Linked DNA regions of Homo sapiens: region 1 is linked to region 2. Evidence: promoter capture Hi-C in 16 types of primary human blood cells and fetal thymus (Javierre and others, 2016). All regions are on one chromosome and are shown on one strand. The core of a region is centred on a gene start or on the middle of the fragment in contact, and the rest is flanking DNA. Distances in the headings are between cores, read along the strand shown.

Region 1 (4,964 bases), core at 621-3,120, 310 kb before region 2:
TCTGTTGGTCCCTCAGGAAAAAAAAAAAAACACACACACACACACAAACACACAAAATAATTTATTTTTAGTACAAAACATAAAACTACATTCTCTGTCTATATAATGTGCCTAGGCTTCAATATCCTATTTGCTGTTCATGCTTAAGTGAGAAAATACTTTTCTCTCCCGTTTATCTTCTCAAAACAGATCTACTTCGTTTTAATCAATGTACGATTTTATTACCGTCATGAAAGAGTATTTAGCAGAGCATCTGTGAATCTTCCACAGGTAAAATTCAGTTTAAAAACAAGCCCAATTGTGAAATAACCTGCAAACTGTTAATTGCAACTTCAATCCTTTAGTTTCCAATACAATCTTCTAATGAAGTGGCATTACTTGAAGTTGCTGGCAAATATGAACAGACTGAGAAACCTAGTAATCAGCAGGCTAACAGGTGTTGAAATCCCAAAAGAGGGAAGAGGAATATTAAATAATCACTCTTTGCCTGACACCTCAAGTAGCTGTAATATGCAGAATTCCAATCAACTTAACTGCAATTCAAAATGATCAGTGGTACTGTTTTCATTAATTACTCTCTAGCAAAAATATAATTTCTTGCATTCCATATAGTTCTTTAAATGACCTATTCCAACTTATACATTATTTTACTAAGTTGGATATACAATTTTATATGTTAGATTATTTTCCAGTTATCAATATGACATCTCATATTGTTTAAATATGATTTAAAACAAATCTTATTAACATATATACAATTTCCTTCTGAATTGATCAACTGTATTTCTGAAAATGTATCTGTTTTCTTTCATATTACTACATGTAAGATGATGTCTAAGTACCAAAAAAAAAAGTCTTCACAGTCACAATTTAAATCTGTGCTTCGCGTCTGCAACAAACTATCACGAAATGATTGCAAGGGTTGGGGCCACTGAGAAAGGTACCTATAACCTATCCAGTGCCCCAGTGGCAACCGCATCGTGGTCCTCATCATCCCACTCATAAACACCGATGCAAACACCGCCCAGCTACCTGCCTCCAGAGGTGCTTTGGATTGCCTCCCTACACATAAAAACAAAAGGCACTTTCCAGTTCCTTACAGCATGAACACAATACCTTCTAGAAACAAAAGCAATGACCTCGGTGCCAAGTATCTCCTTGACAAAGTATCGGTACTGCTCTACATTCTGGTCTTGCTAGTCGGGGAAAGCCGGGCTACCCTTACCATCCAGTTATAGGTGCAACTGCACCTTCCAAAGAAAAAAAGGTCTTTCGATTCAATATCCAAACGAACTTCAGAAGCCTCCTCAAAATGCTTCAGCCACAGGCATAAAAATGGGCTCACTTTTCAGAGATTCGTAAAAATCTTTCGCTTGTCCCTCTTACTACCCTCCCAACCCCTCCTCAAAGAGAATGCCATGAAACATGAAAGTCCAAAGGTAAATACTTTCATACCTTTTTTTCCCCCAAAAGCCTCGATGGCACGCCAAGAAGGAAAATAACAACAACAACAGAGGGGCAGCTCCCTGAGCAGGTGCAGCCCGCGCGGGCGCTCCGCAGCCGCCCTCCGCCGCACAGCCCCTCAAGTTGGTGCCAGGACGGCGGCCCCCGTGGTGCCCGGAGGGAGACTCCGCGCGCGGGCCCCGGCGCCGCTCGGCCCGAAGTTTGCCGCCCCCTCTCCTCGGCGCGCTTGGGCGGCCCGGCGCCGTCCAGGACTGCGGGGCTGGCTGCTGCCCCAGCGTTGGGGAGGCCCGGCGTCCCGCCGACCCCTCCCCGGCCGCGGGCGCGATCGCCTTACCTGGCCGGCGGCGGCCCAGGGCCCGGGAGCCGCTCCGGCTGCGGCGGCGCCTGGGAGGGGAGGGAGGTTCCCGTGGAGGAGGAGCTCGCGCGAGGAGCTAGCGGGCTGGCGGGCGGGCGGCTTTGTCTCTACGGCGCTGAGCCGCCGACCCTGCGTCACCATGGCAACCGCCGGGGCCCCCCCGGCCCTTCCCCTCAGCAGTCCGGGTATTCGGAGAGGACAAGGACCCCCGATGGGCCGCCACCACCACAAACACGCCCCTCTCTCAGTCTCCCTCACAAACCGCCTGTTTCTCCCCAGCGAGAGGGGAAGGCTAAAGCGGAGCGAGCCCAGGGCCAAGTGGTATTCGCATCCTAGTAGGCACTCCTTTGCTTCCCCACACTGGACATTCCAACTCCCGTCGCACCACCATCCCCCCCACAGACACCCTCCACCACTACCACCACCACACCTTTCTCCTGTGGAGCTGTACCCTCAAAATGGAAATTCACTTAAGGGAGGAGAAAGAGCAATGCAAAGTGATAAAGTGTTGAGCAACTGGTACTCGGTTCTCCTGTTGCAACTGCCGCAGCATGCACGGAGCTGCCAAGGGACGCCGTGCCGCCTCCTCCCTCTCCCCCTCCTCCTCCTCTCTCTTTTAGCAAGCTTTGCCTCTGCTGGATGTGGTCTCACTCCACCCAACCCGTGTATCTGTCTTGTTGAGGGCTCCCGTAGGAGAGAGGGGAAAGGGGGCTTTATCTCTGATGTAAACACTGGATACACTTGTAACCTCAGAAGCTGAAACACAACTTTCAGGCTGCAGTATGGATCTCAGCTGCTGCCACACTGCGCAGCTACTGGCTGTGACCGCTAAGCATCTACCATGAGCCCTGAGTGACTCTGTGCCAAGGACTGGTCACGTACTGCAGGCCATGGCACTCAGGAGCAGAGAAAAGAAAGCTAACTTTTTCCTCTCCTGAGGAAATTCTTAGAGAGGGAGAGAAAAGTACCAGCAGACCCTTGGTCATGCTTCCTCTAAAGGACGAACTAGAGGGCAGCCTCCATGGGGGGAGTGAGTCATCCCTCCATACTGTTTTCTTGAAAGATCCGTTGCTGAATCCAAAAGCTACAGTGTCTTTCTTCAAACCCTGGGGAACATGACATTTATTTTTTGGCATTTGTGAATCACCAAAGGAATGTCAATGATTTATAATAAAATCCACGGTAGCTGATGTTTTCTGGGTTTACTACTTGAGAAGCCACAAAGCAGAACAATGTTATTGCCATTTGAAGGTACACCTATATTAACTAATGAAAAGATAAGATCTATTTCATGGTGGAAAAGGAAAACAGTTTGTTCCTCGGAGAGACTGGCCACTTTCTTGTAATGGGAATATTCTGAATGAAGTCAATAATATTCCAGATGAAGTCAAAAGACAAGGTCTTTTTGGCAGGCCATTAAGCATTTGGCAATACCTGCCAGAATTCAAAATGCACATACATTTCTCCCAGCTATCTCAATTCTAGAGATCTGTCATACAGAAACACACAAATGTGTAATGATAGATATAAAAGGATATGCATTGCAGAAGTTTTGTAATAGTAAATGTTTGAAACAACTTATATGCCCATCAATAGTGATATGGTTAAATAATGTGGCACTTCATACCATGTAATACTATGCATCCATTAATAAGAATAAAATATATAAAATTCATAGATATTGATTTCTTATTAAATGGAAAAGGGGGGCTCAGAACCGTATGTGTGGGTGATCCCATTCTGTACAAAAAAACTGGATATATAGGAACAGAACAAAAACATAGGGATAAAGGTCTATAAGAATGCCTACCTAATTGCTAGAAGTGGTAACCTGTTAACTACAAAAAAAATTGAAGGGACAGTTACCTCTTACGATGTACAATTTAGTACACATATTTGGTTTGTTTGGCTTTTTCAAATGAGCATTTATTAGTAATTTATCAATGAAGAAGCAAAAACAAAAAGCTTTAATAAATGTTTGTTGACCTGCATGCACATTACTGCCTGATCAAAAACTGAATACAGAACAGGGAGGGACCATTGACTTGGCCATCCCTGCCCTCAGCTGAAGGCTTGGAAAAGTCCACGTTGTGTCCCCACTTAGAGCATTGCTTAGTGACCTGGTCCTGCGTTATTCTGTGAGACATTCTTCCAGACATTCATTTTTCCAAAAGAGGTTTAGCTTTATCTTAAGGTCTGCTTCCATTCTGCCTCTTGGAGAAAATTAAAAGACTTGTCAGGAAACCATCTTAAAATGTGCCACCTTACTTACCAGGGGATATCATTTGAATAGGTTAAGTGGCAGCTTTTAGTCTGTTTAGCTAAACTGAAACTGAAGATACTAAAGCTTAAAAATTAATGTGTGGATACATGACTAGTCTTTCTTATTCTCACCATTTTTGAAATGAGGTTAAAATAATGAATTTGCTTTCCTAAAAAGATCTAGAGCTGCACAGTCTAATTCAGTAACTGCTAGCCACATATGAATTAGCTACTGAATTGGTATGTTCAGTAAGTGCAAAATACACACCAGATTTCAAAGACTTGGAACAATAACTTTAAAAAAATAATATCTTATTAATAATGTTTATATTGGTTACATGTTAAAATATATTTTGAATTTATTGAGTTAAATAAAAGATGTTATTAAAATCATTAACTTTTGTTCCTTTCCACTTTTTTAACATGATTATTAGAAAATTATAAATTATATATGTGACATTTTGGACAGCTCTGTTTTAGAATTAGTGTTTATAGCAAAATATCATTAAGAAATCTAAAGTTAGCTATTCTTCTTAACTTTTAGTTAAAATGTAATTACCTTATTAATGCTCCCCAACTCATAAAGATGCCACAGTATGGCAATTTCTGTTAAATAATTTCAACTTATTAGAATCCTATTATATGCAAGCATTAGCTTATGCTTTTATATTTTAGAAAGATTTTAGCACAGACACTAAAGTCAGATTACCTGGACCTGAATCTCAGCTCTGTTTATCAACTACATGACCTCAGCAAGCAATTTAATACATCTGTTCCTCAGTTTCCTTACCTATAAAATAGGGATTATAATAATACTTACCTCCTTGAGTTGTAAAAATTAGATGCTTGATTGTCTACAATGCTGAATAAATGTTAACTATTA
Region 2 (4,346 bases), core at 1,355-3,854:
AAATACAGGGAATAGGCCCCAGCTAACCTTGGCCAGGCCCATGCTGGCTTTCTAAGGGCCATTCATATTTGACTGGAAACATCTGCAAGTGCACTTGACACTTACATGAGAAGTTAGTTAAATTAGAATAGTCATACCTTCTTTCACCTTTCCTGGCGATTTCTTGATGCTAAGGAAAAAAAACAAAACCACTGACTGCAATGGCAGTAAAGATTACTCAAAACATGTTATATTATTTCATTTGCCTTTACAAGTAAGACACCCCCTTTCATTACCAACACCCTCAATTTCTACTCAGGAGCTCTCATCAGTTTGGAAAGCAATAGTCACTCCCTAGTACACTGCCACCAACTCTCAAGCATTGGAAGATCTTCACAGTTAAAATCTGAGAGCCTATTAGCAGGCTTTCAAAGCAGCAAAATGCTGTGGGCAATGGAGTTCAAGTGAAACACTTGTTCAGAACAAGTTATAAAGTATTTGAAATATGAAGTGAATGGGAGTAGGTCTGCCTCATTTCATTTGGAGAAATCACAAAGGATTAATTTAATAGTTTAGGCACAGGAGACAGGGAACAGCCTCAAGGGGGCTGTGGCCCAATGGAGAGAGAAATGTAAATGGACAGAATACAATACAGAAGCATTTGCACAGGAGAAAGGCCACACAAAAGCGGAAGTGATGGGAGGTGGGGGGGGGCAAATGAGAAGGTAAAGGTGACACTTGAGCTTGGTTTTAAAAGATGAAAGGGAATTTGCCACCAAATAGATTTGCTCTTACGTTTAATGTATTCAGGATCTGAGTAACTCTTTGGTAAAGTTTTTTTACTGAAAACTTGAGAGTCACTGGCCTAAGCAAAAGGGGGCTGAATTTCTGAATTTAAAGCCTTAAGGGGAGAAAAAGAGGATAGAAAAAAAAAAATTTAGAAGGCTAAATTTAGTAGGGTTTGATCAATTCCCAAAGACGACTATAGCTTTTCGCTTTAAACCATAAAACACCAAAGATGCTAAATGAAGTGGGGAACAGGAAGGACAGGTTGGTGGCAGGTAAGGCAAGTATGGGACAAATCAAGTTTTCAGAGCCTGTGGATAAGTGCCTGCTACCCCACTAAATGATTCAAAACACTTTTTATTCACCACCACCCACTATGCCCTAGTACAATGACAGGCAGTCAACAAAATGTACTGAATGAACACAATGGGATCAGGAATTCAAAAGCTAGCTATGGGAATGAACAAAAATAAATGGTAAAATAAGAAGTAGAACGTTACCTCCGTCTTTCCCATCAAATTCATATACCAAGGTAGCTTTTGAATTTGGGTTCTACAATTCCTTCAGTTATATGGATTCAAATAAATGTACCAGTATATAATTCAAAGATGGGTGTATATAAGCAAGTAATATAAAAAGATCCATTACTTACTTAGTCTGTGAAGCTGTGGTTAACTTCTCCAAAATAGTGTCTGGAAGGAGTTTTCTTTTCTTTTGGAATGAAAACGTTTAAAATTAATAGAAAGTCATGTACATAGTATGTCCGGAGTTGCTTCTGAAGTTACCGCTTTTAAGAATGCCCTACATCTAGGCAAAGAAATGAATTAGGCTGGAAACTGCCCCCATACCTCTAAGCTATGGGAAGACCGGGTCCACAAAACTCCACATTCTCTGAAAGACTTGATGAAAACTAGAAAGGGTGCCCACGGTATTCTAACCCTCAGGTCACTGTTATAAATTGAAAGCAGTTAAGTAATGTCTGCCTGGAGCCAGCTCTCTGTGTCGAGTATCAGACAGCAAAGCAACCATACACTAAGTCTGTACAGCCCTTACAGTTTACAAATCACCTCATTTAATTCTCACAGCAACCTCTTATTTTCAGTTGGTGGACACTAAAGGAGACGAACTTTTTTTTTTTGAGACAGGGTCTCGCTCTGTCGCCCAGGCTGGAGCGCAGTGGTGTGATCTCGGCTCCAGGCAGCCTCGACATCCCGGGCTCCGCCCACCTCGTCCAACTAAAGTACTGCCGCGCCCGGCCCGAGCATCTTTCCACCACTGTCAGAGGCAATCTTGGTGACTGTTTCCCCACTCCAATATCCTGCCAACCCAAATTACATCCACCATAGGAATTCTCCCTGAGCCGAGTTGTTTTAATAAGACACCTCCTCCCTAGCCTCTAACCTTCTGTTCGATGAACAGCTCCTCGCGTCGCTTCCTCTTCTCCTTCAGGAGCGTTTTATCCCTGGGAGGAAGGGTGATAAGTCAGCAAAGGGAAGGACAAGCGGGACGAGAAAGGGCGGTTCTCCCCGCCGGGCAGCGGGCTCCGAACCTGCGCACGGTCTCCCGCACTCGCCGCTCCTCTTCTCTCGCTTCCGCCTGGGCGCTGGCGAAAGTCAGCTCCTCCGGGGCCTCATCGTCAAACTCATCGTCCCCTTCCTCGTCTTCCTCCAGGGGCTCGGCGGCCGCGCCGCTGCTGGGCTGCCCGAGCAACAGCCCGTGCTCCGCCTCCTCCTCCTCCGAGGCCAGCTGGCCCTCGTCCACCATCGCCTCCGCCGACGCCGGGGCGCGAGACGCTCGCGGTCGGAGCTGCACCATGGCCCACGCAGCGCTAGACCGTCTGACCTCTGACCCGGAAGCAGCTACAAGCGGAGCGCAAGCCTACTTTCATCGCCCCCTGCAGGTTCGGAGGTCCTCAGGACGGGTGGGGCGCATGCGCGAAGGGAGGAAGGGCGTGGCCTGTAGGCAGTGGGCGTGTTTCTTTCCACGTGGCCAGCGCAGGCCGCCTTGGAGCCGGATGGACCCCACGGAAAATGCTCTGCCGGCGAAAGCGGCTGGCAATGGGGTTGATTTCAAGGCAGGGAAGAGCCATCGCGCTGCCCTCCTCGGCTGGGATGGCGAGACAGGGCTGGCACGGCTCACGCTGTCCGGTGCTCAGAAAACCGGTAATCGCGGGCCCGAGGCGCTGCTCGCCGCCGTTTTTTGGCCCTGGGTTCCGTCGAGTGGATCCAGCTTGTCAGTCTTTGTGTAGATTTGGCTGCGTTCGCTCCGCACTTCGGAGGAGGTGGCGTTTCATGGGAAGAAATGCGCTCTAGCAGATGGCCGCCGTGGCCAGTCAGCCCTGCTGCCACCGACGAAGACGCGGGCGACAGACCTGGACTCTAAAGAAATCTGCACAGACGTGCCCGGCGCCCTCGGCCTTCCCAGCTCCGCGGCCGCAGCGACGCCGGTTAGGATGTCGGCCCTGTGGGAGGGGCGCCCTTCCTGGTGCCGGGCCCTAACCCACGACCTGGAACAGCAGCTGGCCCGTGGCAAATGCTGAGCATATCTCCTGAAAGAATGGCTTCGCCGGTCCCTAGAGAATGCACCCGAGTTTTGTGGTATATACACATACGTACTTTTTTTCCAAGTATATTTTATTTCTTGGCAAACATGGCCCTTTGTGATCGCTGTGTTTCTCTCCTCCCATCCATTATACAACACTAAGTGATTCATCATTCTTTGAACAAATCAAACTGTTTCACACCTGCCATGCATTTGTACCGACCGTGCTCTTCCCTCTACTGCCGCAGCCCCCCAGGTAGAAGTCCTTTTTATACTTCAAAAATTCCCACCCAGGCAAATTTCAAGCACCTTACCCCTACCCCATCCCACTCTGCCCATCTCTAATTGCGCTGGTCTGAACCCGCACAAATGTCTGTGTAGTTTCTGCACTTCATAACAGCTTATATGACAGTTGCTCCAGCCATTCTGTGAACCCCTGAGGGGAAGGGCCAGGTCTTGCTAGTCATTTTATTTCTAATGTCTATCATCTGGTAGATGTTTAATAAATGCTAAGTTGAATAATTCTATCTTACACATATATTGTATTTTTAATTCTCTTTTCATGTCTTCTGTTTTAGAAGCAATTCTCAATTTAAAAACGACAAAACCAAATAGGAACAAAAATGATAAAACTTGAAAACAACAACAACAAAAAAAGCTGCTGAACCAGAGGTTCAGTATGAGAGGAATTGCAAAGAACAGTTTTGAAATCTCTAGGCCTTAGTCAGATAGAAATTACAAATCAAAAATATAATCAGACTCCCTGAGACACTAACACTAGGAAAATGAATAAAGTTAACTTGGAGCAGCCCAAGAACAAACTTATAAGTGCATGATGGTATTTTATGTGCAAAACTGCTTTATAAGTACTATAAGACTATTACAGGTATTACCAGTGCCCTCAGTGTAAACTCCTTGGCCCACCCATGTAAAGTGTACATCGAGCCCTCAGGGTCCCTGACTGGTTCTCCAGCCGCCCCATAGGCTATGAGCATCCCCGTTCCCTACACAAAGGACCACTGGGATTTATTAAAGGTTAT

The links. The method cuts DNA at HindIII sites, captures the fragments that hold promoters and counts their contacts. A CHiCAGO score of 5 or more calls a contact.
Region 1: the fragment with the promoter of RNF182 here is called in contact with the fragment with the promoter of NOL7 in region 2 in 3 of 17 cell types (non-activated CD4 T cells, activated CD4 T cells and total CD4 T cells); the score reaches 8.7 in non-activated CD4 T cells.

What each region holds. Positions count from the first base shown.
Region 1 is chr6:13,921,858-13,926,821 of GRCh38, reverse strand. RNF182 (ring finger protein 182) reads right to left here and starts at 1,870. Exons shown (of 3, transcript NM_152737.4): 1 at 1,799-1,870. RefSeq lists an enhancer at 2,475-2,975. The HindIII fragment of the contact is 2,801 bases long and covers 1-2,445 here.
Region 2 is chr6:13,613,593-13,617,938 of GRCh38, reverse strand. It overlaps NOL7 (nucleolar protein 7), which reads right to left and starts at 2,604. Exons shown (of 8, transcript NM_016167.5): 1 at 2,315-2,604; 2 at 2,167-2,227; 3 at 1,418-1,476; 4 at 138-169. The coding sequence starts at 2,580. SIRT5 (sirtuin 5) reads right to left here. Exons shown (of 10, transcript NM_012241.5): 10 at 2,781-4,346. LOC124901263 (a long non-coding RNA gene) reads left to right here and starts at 2,737. Exons shown (of 2, transcript XR_007059461.1): 1 at 2,737-4,346. RefSeq lists an enhancer at 3,222-3,391. The HindIII fragment of the contact is 25,604 bases long and covers 1-4,346 here.